Regions from separate parts of the Homo sapiens genome. Here region 2 is linked to region 1. Evidence: promoter capture Hi-C in 16 types of primary human blood cells and fetal thymus (Javierre and others, 2016). All regions are on one chromosome and are shown on one strand. The core of a region is centred on a gene start or on the middle of the fragment in contact, and the rest is flanking DNA. Distances in the headings are between cores, read along the strand shown. Region 1 holds the start of KRTAP5-2 (keratin associated protein 5-2). Region 2 has its middle 12 kb from the start of MUC5B.

The links. Contacts are between HindIII fragments. The CHiCAGO score rates a contact against its expected background, and 5 or more counts as called.
Region 2: a fragment that was not itself captured here is called in contact with the fragment with the promoter of KRTAP5-2 in region 1 in 2 of 17 cell types (naive B cells and total B cells); the score reaches 6.7 in naive B cells.

What each region holds. Positions count from the first base shown.
Region 1 is chr11:1,595,560-1,601,656 of GRCh38, reverse strand. It overlaps KRTAP5-2 (keratin associated protein 5-2), which reads left to right and starts at 3,363. Exons shown (of 1, transcript NM_001004325.2): 1 at 3,363-4,480. The coding sequence starts at 3,407. The coding sequence ends at 3,940. It overlaps KRTAP5-AS1 (KRTAP5-1/KRTAP5-2 antisense RNA 1), which reads right to left. Exons shown (of 2, transcript NR_021489.2): 2 at 2,473-4,409. RefSeq lists enhancers at 3,587-4,160, 4,735-5,308. The HindIII fragment of the contact is 10,330 bases long and covers 2,421-6,097 here.
Region 2 is chr11:1,207,883-1,214,375 of GRCh38, reverse strand. No RefSeq gene overlaps it. Among named protein-coding and RNA genes, the nearest start is that of MUC5B, 12 kb to the left of the region's middle. The HindIII fragment of the contact is 4,451 bases long and covers 2,608-6,493 here.

The sequences.
Region 1 (6,097 bases), core at 2,114-4,613:
TATTTTTAATTGCACACTTCCATTTGTTTATCAGAGAATCATCTTTTTAAAAACTTGGTTGTTTGTATTCTACTTGTCAATTTGTAAGAGCTACTAATGTTTTATAGATTTTTTTTTTGAGACAGGGTCTCGCTCGGTTGTTGGAGTGCAGTGGCACAATGTCAGCTTACTACAACCTCTGCCTCCTTGGTTCAAGCAATTCTTCCACCTCAGCCTCCCAAGTAGCTGTGATTACAGGCATGCACCACCGTGCCCAGCTAGTTTTTATATTTTTAGTAGAGATGAGGTTTCACCATGTTGGCCTGGCTGGTCTTGAACTCTTGGCCTCATGTGATCCACCTGCCTTGGGCTCCCAAATTGCTGGGATTATAGGCATGAGCCATCGTGCTCGGCCAGTGTTTTATAGATTATAGAACTAATAAATGAATCCAGCAAGTTTTCAGAATACAGGACCAATATATAAAAATCAATTGTATTTCTACTCACTTGCAACTCTGAAAGTGACAAAACACTGTTGAAAGAAACTAAAGAAGATCTAAAACATCCCAGATTTGTTGTGGACTGAATATTCATGTTCTTTCAAATTCATATGTTGAATCCATCACTCCCATTGTGGTTGTATATGGAGACGAGTTCTCCAAGGAAGAAATTAAGGTTACGTAAGGTCATAAGGGCTTCCACAGGATTTGCATCTTCATAAGAAGAGACACCAGGGAGCATTTGCCTCTGTCTCGCTCTCTCTTTCTCTCTCTCTCTCTCTCTCTCTCTTCCTCCCTCCAACTCTTTCTCTCTCCACACACAAAGGAAAGGCCATGTGAGCAAAGAGTGGGAAAGCGGCCATCTGCAACCAAAGGAGAGAGCCCTCACCAGAAACAAAAGTTGCTTGCACCCGATCTTGGACTTCTGAATTGTGAGAAAATAAATGCCTGTTGTTGGGCCACCAAATCCGTGGTATTTTGTTATGGCAGCCCAAAAGCAGACTGATGTTCATGTATCAGGAGACTTAACATTTTTCAGATGGCAATACCCCCAAAATTGATCTACAGAGTCTATGCAATCTCTATCAGGAAAGCAGCTGGCTTCTTTGTAGAAATTCACAGGCTGATTTTAAAGTTCATGTGGAATCTCAAGGGACCCGGAATAGCTAAAACAAGGTTAAAAAGAAGAACAATGTTGGAGGGCTCACACTTGCCAATTTGAAAACTTACTACAAAGCTGCAGTCATCAGGGCAGTTTAGCACTGTTGTTAGAATAAATGTATAAACCAGTGGAATAGAATTGAGAGCCAGAAATAAACCCTCATGTAGATGACCAACTGATTTTTGACAGGGTGCCAGATCATTCAATGGAGGAAGAGCAGTACTTCAACAAATGATGCTGGGAAACTAGACATCCACATGCACAGGAATGAGCTGGACCCCTACTTCACACCACATACACTAATTAATTTAAAATGGGTCAAAAGGCCTACATTTAAGAGTCAAATCTATAAAACTATTAAAAGAAAACATGACCTTGGATTCGGTGTGGATTCATAGATAGGACACCAAAAGCACCAGCAACAAAAGAGAAATACAAATACATTGGATGCCATCAAAAGTTAAATATTTTTGCACCAAAGGACGCTATCAACAAAGTGAAAGAACAGTCTACATAATAAAGGAAGAAAAGATTTACAAATCAGATATCTGATAAGCATCTAGTATCTAGAGTATATAAAGAACTTTTTCTTCAACTTTTATTTTAGAATCAGGCAGTACATGTGCAGGTTTTTCACATGGGTATATTGTGTGATGCTGAGGTTTGGAGTATGAATGAATCCATCACCAAAATAGTGACTGTGGTACCCAGTAGTTTTTCAGTCCTTGCCCCCTTGCTCTCTCCTCTTGTTCCCCAGTATTCAGCCTTTGCCCCCTCCCTCCCTTCCTCCCTCCTCTTGTTCCCCAGTGTCTATGGTTTTCATCTTTATGTCCATGTGGACTCAAAGTTTAGCTCTCACTTATAAGTGAGAATATGTGGTATTTGGTTTTCTGCTTCTGCATTAGTTCCCTTAGGATAACGGCCTCCAGCTTCATCCATACTGCTGCAAAAGATATGACTTCGTTCTTTTTTGCAGCTGTGTAGTATTCCATGGTGTATATGTACCACATTTTCTTTATCCAATCCACCATTGATGGGCACCTGGGTTGATTCCACATCTTTGCTTTTGTGAATAGCACTGCAATTAACATATGGATGCATGTGTCTTTTTGGTAGATTGATTTATTTTCCTTTGGGTATATACCCAATCATGAGATTGCTGGGTCAAATAGTAGTTCAATTCTTAGCTCTTTGAGAAATCTCCAAACTGCTCTCCGTGGTGGCTGAATTCATTTACATTCCCACCGACAGTGTACAAGTGTTCCCTTCTCTCTCAAGCTTTGCCAGCATCTGATTTTAGGTTTTTTTGTTTTGTTTTGTTTTTTACTTTTTATCAAAAGCCATTCTGACTGATATGAGATGGTATCTCGTGGTGGTTTCGATTTACATTCCCCGAATAGTTAGTGATGTGGAGCATTTTTTCATATAGTTGTTGGCCAGTGTTGAAGGAGGGGCCTGCAGGGAGGTGTCTGGGTCATGGGGGTGGATCCCTCATGAGTGACTTAGTGCCACCCCCTTGGCGATGAGTGTGTTCACTCAGATCTGGTTGTTCACAAGTGTGTGGCTCCTCCTCACCCCTTGCTCCCACTCTCACCATGTGGTGTGCCTGTTCCTGCTTCGCCTTCCACCGTGAGGAAAACTCCCTGAGGGCCTCCCCAGAAGCTGAGCAGAGGTGGGTGCCATGCTTGTGCAGCCTGCAGAACCATGAGCCATTCTAACCTCTTTCCTTTATAAATTACCCAGCCTCAAGTATTTCTTTAGAGCAATGCAAAGAATGGTCTAACACACCCGGAAAGCTGAGACTGGCATGAGTATAAAGATCGTGGATAATTTTGAAATCTAAAAATGTAAAATTAATATTATTGAGGGAGTCAACACAGGAAAGATGAGAGCACGTGGGCAGAGGCTGTTGCCCATTGGTCACATGTGGTCAGCAGAGAGCAGGTGACCAGCACCCTGGAGCTTTGCAGGAAGAACCAGACAGCCTGGAGCTGAGGTTTTAATTGTAGGGGCCAAAACAAATGGGGAAAAAGACAAATTTAGAAAACAAAGAAAGTAGATGCTCAACTGAGCCAGAAGGAAGTCACTAGCAAAGAGGAAAAAAATAGAGCTCTGGAAAAATAGTGTAAACAGTCACAAGAAAGGGACCCTGTGTCATGCCTGACATCTGGACAGGTATATAAAGAGCCCAGGCTCAGGGAGCTCCACACCTGCACCTCCCTCTCACCTGCTCCTCTACCTGCTCCACCCTCAATCCACCAGAACCATGGGCTGCTGTGGCTGCTCCAGAGGCTGTGGCTCCGGCTGTGGGGGCTGTGGCTCCAGCTGTGGGGGTTGTGGCTCTGGCTGTGGGGGCTGTGGCTCCGGCCGTGGGGGCTGTGGCTCTGGCTGTGGGGGCTGCAGCTCCAGCTGTGGGGGATGTGGCTCCAGATGTTATGTGCCTGTCTGCTGCTGCAAGCCCGTGTGCTCCTGGGTGCCAGCCTGTTCCTGCACCAGCTGTGGCTCCTGTGGGGGCTCCAAGGGGGGCTGTGGCTCCTGTGGGGGCTCCAAGGGGGGCTGTGGCTCCTGTGGGGGTTCCAAGGGGGGCTGTGGTTCTTGTGGCTGCTCCCAGTCCAGCTGTTGTAAGCCCTGTTGCTGCTCCTCAGGCTGTGGATCATCCTGCTGCCAGTCCAGCTGCTGCAAGCCCTGCTGCTGCCAGTCCAGCTGCTGTGTCCCCGTGTGCTGCCAGTCCAGCTGCTGCAAGCCCTGTTGCTGCCAGTCCAACTGTTGTGTCCCTGTGTGCTGCCAGTGTAAGATCTGAGGCTCTGGACCCAGACCTTCAGGTTTCTCCTGTTTGGTGAAAGCATTTCTTATGGTTCCCTGAGTCAGTTCGTCCCACACATCCTCCCTGAGGCACCTGCACCTGCTCTAGCTCACCATCCATGCACACACCTCCTTCCATGGCTCAGCTCTCCTCTGGGCCCTGCCTTCAGCCTCCTCACTCCAGAAACGTGTGTTTCCCTGATGCGGGAGGTGTCCTCGCCTGGACGCAGGCACCCAGCCGACTGCCACGATGTTCCCTGCACTTGGGTGTGGACCATCTTCTTCTTCTCCCTGGGCTGACTGAGATGCAAGGTCTGACCCCACAAGGCCAGGCCGACGTTTCTGAGTGATCACTAAGAACCAGCTTCTCAACCACCATCAGGACCCTGGATCCTCCTGGGCCGCTGCCTGTTCTCCTGTGGCCCAAGTGTGACCAGGAAGGTCTCTTTCCTTCCTGTTGTCTCCATCTGTTTAAAAAAAAATAACAAAATAATGAATGAATTTCCTTGCAATAAAGCCTCTCATGTCTGTAAATCAACTGTATACTTGGTGCAATTCTGTCCAACCCCTTTCCTGTGCGGTGACCGATTCTGTGTTCTGATCTGTCAGCTAAGCTGGGAAACGCCTGCCAGCAGGCCTGGTACATTCACAAAAAAGCCTGCCATTCCCTTCTGTCCTCCTCTCGGCCTCAAATATCTTCACAGTCTCTGCTTGCAGGAGAAGAGGGCTCAGCCCGGGGAGGATTCGGCATTCAATGCCCGCCCTAGAGGCGCAGAGGGGCAGGCGGGCCCTGAGTCCTGACGACCAGCCAAGCAGGGCCTTGCACAAGACCCATGGCTTCCAGCTTCCCGCTCTCCTCTGGGGCCTCGGAAGGACCCCAGGCAGGGCAAGGTCGGAGGAGGGAGGAGTGAAGCACCGCTGAGCTCCAGCGCGGTCTGATTCAAACACTCAATTAGCCTTTTACAATCATGAGGTCAACGGCTTTCCATAACTAAAGGTAACCAGGAAGTTACAGAATGGCCCAAGGTGTCCTCGGAGCTCAGTCTCCCGGCAGGAAAGGGGAGTTCCTGGGAAATGACACATTTGGGGACCCTGAGCCAAGTCCATCTGTTTCATGGTGACGTGCCACCACGCTGAGCCTGTTCTCTGACCAGTGTCACAGGCAAGGCTTTAGAAATCACGCACTGGGGAGGAGGGGACGAGAGTGATCTGAGGATGATCTCCAGACAAGCGAACCTGGAGGGAAAAGGTGGAGGGAAGAGAGCACACAGGGAGCGCTGGTGAGAAATGAGCTCCCACAGAACACCCACAGATCTAAGCGACTGCTGATAATGCCAGGGAAGAGCAGAGTGGGAATTTCCAGGACAAATTTCTGAGAGAAAAGAGATGCAATGTAAGGAAAAATGAAATAATCTAGAAATAAAGGCTTAGATTAATTCAGCCACTTTTAGGAGAGGGAATAAAAGTGTGTCAAAGGTGCATCTTGCTAGGGGACATGGCTATCGTTAGTTTCACGACGTTAAAAGGAAATGCTGCTTAAGACAGTTTACTCAAAAATCCAAACTGGGAAACTCCAGAAGGTGGCAGCAGACATGAACGCAGAGTTCATTACATTTGGGCCCTGTACATTCCCACAGCCCACAGGACACCGAGCAACTCGGTAACAAAACCAAAAATGCATGCTGGAGACTTATAACAAAACCAGGTAAGCCAGGCATGGTAGCGCAAACCTGCAGCCCCAGCTACTTGGGAGACTGAGGCAGGAGGATGGCTTGAGCCTAGGAGTCTGAGGCTGCAGTGAGCTGTGATCGCACCACTGAACTCCAGCCTGGGCAATATAAAGTGAGATGGTGTCTTAAGAAAAAGCAGGTGAACCTAAAAGTACAAGAAGGTGGGGATAAATTTCCAAGAGCCACAGTCCCCCAGGGTTTCAGTGTCTGTGCAGGAGAAAGCGAAGAAACATCTAACAGAGACGAAAACAGGGGAACCTCAAAAGAGCCAACAGGTGTGTGCTGGAAAAGCGCAGCATGAATTTTGGATTTGGCTCCTGAAATGGGGAAGGTTTTCCTCCCTCTAGTGGTGAGTGGGTGCAAGGGCCCTCGGTAAGTCCCTAGAGGCAATGGAAGAAAGCTAGGAAGCCTGCCGTGAAACAGAT
Region 2 (6,493 bases), core at 3,584-6,083, 390 kb after region 1:
GGAACTGTGAGTCCATTAAACCTCTTTTTCTTTATACATTACTCAGTCATGGGTATTTCTTTAGCAGGATGAAAATGGACTAATACAGAACGGTTGCCCTTTTTTTCCAATCTTTTGGAAGAATTTGATACATATTGGTGTTAATTCTTCTTTAAATGCCTGTTAGAATTAACCAGTAAAGCCATCAGGCCCTGTGATTTTCTTTATATAGGAGGGTTTTGATTACTGACTTAATCTCCTTTTCTACATCTACTCAGTTTGCCTATTTCTTCATGAGGCAGTTTTGCTACATAGAGTGCTTTTGAGGAATTTGCCTGTTTCTTCTAAGTTATCAAATTTGTTGGCAGACAATTGTTCATAGCATTCTCTTATAATTGTTTTTGTTCCTGTAAAATTTTTAGTAATATCCTTTTTATTTCTGATTTTAGTAATTTGAATCTTCTCTTTTTTCTTAGCCAATCTAGCTAAAAGTTTGTCAATTTGGTTGATCTTTTTAAAGAACCAACTTTTGGTTTCATTGAAGGCTTTTTTTCCTATGATTTTTTAAAATTCCTTGTTTTATTTATTTCTATTGTAACCTTTATTATGTCCTCCCTTTTGGTAGCTTTGGGTTTAGTTTTCTCTTCTTTTTCTAGTTCCTTAAGGTATACAATTAGGTTATTGATTTAAGATATTTCTTCTTTTTTGATTTAGTTGTTTCTAGCTATACATTTCCCTCTCATTACTACCTTTGTGTGTCTTATAAGTTTGGATACATTGTGGTTTTGTTTTCATTCAAGCTTTAAGAATGCCTAATATCTTTGGTGATTTCTTCTTTGACCTGTTTGTTATTTAAAGGTGTGATATTCAATTTCCTCATATTTGTACATTTTAGTTTTTCTTTTATTATTGATTTTTAGCTTCATTCCTTTGTAGAATACTTTGTGTGATTTCAATCTTTGAAAGTTTATTAAGACTTGTTTTGGATCCTATCATATAGTTTCTCCTGGAGAATATTTCATGTGCACTTGGAAAAAAATGTGTCTTCTGCTGTTGGTAGGTGAAGTGTTCTGTGCATGTACATTATGTCTAATTGGTCTATAGTGTTGTTCAAGTCCTCTGTTTCCTTATTGATCTGTCTGGTTGTTGTATTGATTATTGAAAGTGTGGTACTGAAGTCTTCAGCTATTGTTATAGAACTATTTATTTCTCCCTTCATTCTGACAATGTTTGCTTCATATACCTGGAGGCTCTGTTGTTTGGTTCATATATATTTATAGTTGTTATATCTTCTTGTTGAATTGACTTTTTTTTTTTTTTGAGACAGAGTCTCACTCTGTTGCCCAGGCTGGAGTGCAGTGGCATAATCTTGGTTCACTACAATCTCTGCCTCCCACGTTTACGCCATTCTCCTGCCTCAGCCTCCCAAGTAGCTGGGACTACAGGCACCCACCACCATGCCCGGCTAATTTTTTGTATTTTTAGTAGAGATGGGGTTTCACCATGTTAGCCAGGATGGTCTCAATCTCCTGACCTCATGATCCGCCTGCCTTGGCCTCCCAAAGTGCTGGAATTACAGGCGTGAGCCACCATGCCCAGCCAATCATGGTTTTTTAAAAATTGATTTTAACCAGTCTCTGCATTTTAAATGGAGAGTCTAAGTCTATTTGCATTTAAAGTAATTACTAATAAGGATGTACTTACCACTGCCATTTTACTATTTTTTTGTATGTCTTCTAATTTTTTGTTCCTCATTGTCTCCATCACTGCCTTCTTTTGTCTTCAGTTGATTTTTTGAAGTGACAAATTTTTATTCCCTTCTCATTTCTTTTTGTGTATATTCTATAGCATTTTCTTTGTGGTTACCCTCGGGATGACATATAACATCCTAAAGTTATAACAGTCTAGTTTGAATTGATACCAACATAACTTTAATTGCACACAAAACCCTCCTTCTACACAGCTCCACCCCCTCCCTTTATTTCATTGATGTCACAAATTACATCTTTATACCTTGTGTATTCAATAACATAGATTTATAGTTATTTTTATGCATTTGCCTTTTATATCCTGTAGAAAAGAAGAAGTGGATTAAAATCAAATTTACAGTAATACTGGATTTTTATATTTGGCCATGTATGTAGTTTCAGTGAAGATCTATTTCTTTTTACAGCTTTGAGTTACTGTCTAGTGTCCTTTTATTTCAGCCTGAAGGACTTTGTGTAGCATTTCTTGCAGGGCTTGGCTAGTGGCAACAAATCCCTTACCTTTTGTTTATCTGGTAATGTCCTAATTTCACCCTAAGTTTTGAAGGACAGTTTTGCCAGATATAGAATTCTTGGTTGACAGTGTTGTTGTTTTTTAATTTCAGCACTTTAAATGTTATCATCCACTACCTTGCTGGCCTTTAAGGTTTCTGATGGTAAATATGCTGCCAATCTTACTGAAGATCCCTTAAATACGACAAGTCACGTCTCTTCTTGCTTTTGAGATTCTTTCTTTGCTTTTATCCTTCAACTGTTTGATTATAATGTGTCTCAGTGTGGATCTCTTTGAGTTTATCCTACTTGGAGTTTCTTGAACTCCCTGGATTTGTAGATTCATGTTTTTCATCAATTTTAGAAAGCTTTTGGCCATTTTTGTTCCTTTGAATTTTTTTGAGTTTCTTTGAATAATTTCTCCCTTTCTCTCCTCCTGTAAGACCCACTTGGTGGTCAACAAGCACCTCAGATTCTATTCACTTTTCTTCAATCTTTTTTTCTTTCTGCTCCTCAGACTTGATCATTTCAATTGCCTTGTCTTCAAGTTTGGCTGAGCCTTTCTTATAACTGCTCAAATATGCTGTTGAACCCCTCTAGTGATTTTTTTTCATTTCAGTTATTATAATTTCCAAGTACAGAATATCTGTTTGGTTCTTTTTAAAAAGATTTCTGTCTCTTTGTGGGTATTCTCATTTTGTACGTGCATTGTCTTACTGACCTCCTTTGGTTCTTTGTCCGTCTTTTGCTTTAGTTCTTTGAGCAACTTAAGACAGTTGCTTTAAAATCACTGGCTAGTAAGACTGATGTCTGAATTTACTCAGGGATAACTTCTCCCAGTTTATTTTGTTCCTCTGGATGGGCTATATTGTTTCTTTGTAAGTCTTGTGATTTTTTTGTTGAAAATTGGGGATTTAACTATTATAATGTGGTAACTCTGGAAATCAGATTTCCCCCTTTTTCTAGTGTTGGCTGGGTTTTTCTCTTCTTTTTTATTATTGAAGGCTACAGTGATCCATTCGAGATGTTTTTAAGTGAACTTTGCAAAGGCTGTTTCTTGGTGTGTTTTTTTTTTCTTGACAGAGTCTTGTTCTGTTGCCCAGGCTGGAGTGCAATGGCACGCTCACTGCAACCTCTGCCTCCTGGGTTCAAGCAATTCTCCTGCCTCAGCCTTCCAAGTATCTGGGATTACAGGCACCCACCACTACACCTGACTAATTTTTTGTATTTTTAGTAGAGACTGGTTTTGCTATATTGGTCAGGCTGGTCTTGAGCTCCTGACCTCAGGTGATCTGCCCTCCTCGGCATCCCACAGTGCTGGGACTACAGGCGTGAGCCACCACACCTGGCTGCCAAAGACTATTTCTTGTCATGTGTGATCATGAAGTCTGTGTTCCTTTAGCTCATGTTCAACTGATGTTTTGACAGAGATTTCCTTGAATGCCGGGAGCTCTCCCAGTTTTTAGAGAGAAAGACTAAGAAAAGTGGGAGGAATTAGACTCATTAATGGATATTGACACTAGTTAACACACAGCAGCTAGGGAGGAATAGAATAATTATGTGGTCCTGAAGCACCTCCCACAAGAGACTCCTTAGCTCCAGGGGAGGAGATGGCAACTTTCTGCTGAGACCAACTTGGTCGGGGAGATCCTAACCCAGTGGCACTAGAGGAATTAAAGACACACACAGAAATATAGAGATGTGGAGTGGGAAATCAGGGGTCTCACAGCCTCCAGAGCTGAGAGCCTCGAACACAGATTTACCCACGTATGTATTAACAGCAAGCCAGTGATAAGCATTGTTTCTATAGATTATAGATTAACTAAAAGTATTCCTTATGGGAAATGAAAGGATGGGCTGAAATAAAGCGATGGGTTTGGCTAGTTATCTGCAGCAGGAGCATGTCCTTAAGGCTCAGATCACTCATGCTATTGTTTGTGGCTTAGGAACGCCTTTAAGCGGTTTTCCACCCTGGGTGGGCCAGGTGTTCCTTGCCCTCATTCCAGTAAACCCACAACCTTCAGCGTAGGCGTCATGGCCATCATGAACATGTCACAGTGCTGCAGAGATTTTGTTTATGGCCAGTTTTGGGGCCAGTTTATGGGCAGATTTTGGGGGGCCTGTTCCCAACAACTTTCCAGTGGAGAAAACCGGCAGACACCCCTGAACCAAGTGATGAAGGCTGGCGTCCCAGTGCTGGGTCCAATCGACATCACATCCTCTGGAGACACGCACAGCTTCCCCGTGGTGACCCTGCCAGGGTACAGCCCAGCTGGAGCACAAGCAAACCTCAGACAGACTTAGGGGTGCCACGCAACATAACCAGCCTACTCTCCTCAAAAGACCACGGTCAAGAAACAGAAAAGCTGAGGACAGATTCCAGATACAAGGAGACTGAAGAGCTGGCAGTGGTGGGACAGGTGGTCCTACGCCAAACCCTGGGGTGGGAAAGATGAAAGCTGTGATGGACGCGGGCAGGACAGCAGAGGGGTCTGCCTCTGGGCTGTGATGTCACGTCACCGACCCGTCTGGGTGTGACCCCTGCTGTTTCTAGGCGACACGTCTGCGTATATAAGGGTGAAGGGACATGCTTCTCAAACACCAGAGGTTCAGAAAAATATGTAGCTACAGACAGCAAATAGCACAAGTCCCTGGAACAAAACACAAGCCCCAGAGCCTGAGGAAGGGCATGGAGGAGGTCTCTGTTCCACTCATTCAACTTACCTGCAAGTTCAGAACCACAGCGAAGGAGGACTTTCCCCAGAGGCATGATGCCACCAGAATGCATCCCCTGCAGTAGCCCAGTGGGGCCTGGATGCAGGGGTGCAGTAGTGAAGGGGGACAAAAGGGAAAAGGGAGAAGTGGAGGGGACACGTGTGGAAGGAGGAGGAGGGGGACATGGCAGAGACAGCCTGAGCAGGCAACAGGGATGCAAGGGGCTGGCGTGCCATGGCCAGGTGCTGAGGCCGGTGTCGGGGCTGTCCTGGCCCTGGCACCGTGGATGCTTAGTGGCTCCCCAGCCCTGAGAGTCTCCTGGGGAAGCAGCACCCCCATGCAGGGCCAGAGTCTTGGGGTGCCTCACAGTGGCGGGCAGGCATGACCTCAGTGTGGCGGGCAGGCGTGACCTCAGTGTGGCGGGCAGACGTGACCTCAGTGTGGCGGGCAGGCGTGACCTCAGTGTGGCGGGCAGGCGTGACCTCAGTGTGGCGGGCAGGTGAGGATGCGGGCAGAGTGTGGACAGAGGACAAGGCCGAGGCAGGCCCCTTGGCCGCATTTGCTCAGGATTAAGACAACTCGAGTCAGAGCAAACAGGAGTGGGGCGCACGTTGTCCAGTTCCCTGCCAAGTGTCAGCGGCAAACAGGCCCTCCCTTCCCTCCAGGAACCCCGATGTTGACTTAGCGCCTGCGAGGCTGGCAGAGGGGCCAACGTGGCCCCGTGTGGCTGAGGCCACCTTCCCCAGTGGCCCGGTGCTGGGTTAGGCACCTGATACCAAGGCCAGCACCCACACCCAAGCCCTACAGGCTCCTGCTACCGCCGGCTCCTGCCCCACCTGGCCCCAGGGCCCCTGCAAGAACTGGGAAAGGGAGATCCAGGCCCAGCCCAAGGGACCCACCACAGTCCTGACTCCCGCGCCGTGATGGGGCAGGCCGAGCAGCAGAGGGGCAGCCCACTTGCAGGGCCCGACCCTCACGGGACACAGGCCCAGGCGTGATCCCCGCCCCTTTCACCTTTGGGCCCGGCCGCCCTGTCTGTGCACTCAGCCTCACCAGGGCCCTGCCTGCCCCACATCTGGGATGAGGCTGACGTTCTGAAAGCCTGTGTGGTCTGAGCAGATGGCGGCGAATGCGCCCACACCCCTGTGGGGTACAGAGTCAGAGCTGCTCCAAGGGCAGTGGTGAGTGAACTCTGAACTCTGACCTACGACCCCATTCAGAGGTCACGGTGGTCAGAACAGCTCAAGGGGCACAATGAGGACTTGTTTGTAGGGAAAAGGTTGGCGACCAGACCAAGGCCTCACGCCCAGTTCTACCCAGCCGCGGGGACATGAGGGGCAGCCTCGCCCATGGCCGGCCTGAGGCTTTGGCAGAGTTTGGTCGAGAGCTGCTGCCAGGCCCCTTTCTCAGAACTTAAGGTCACTCAGCACCGACCCTTTATCGCCCAGGAGGATGGTGGGACTGGCCTGGGGTCAGCAGGGGCCCTGCCCTGGCGTTGCTGAGCCTCTGGACGGACGGGCTTCTGCCCAGCTGAGCAGCCC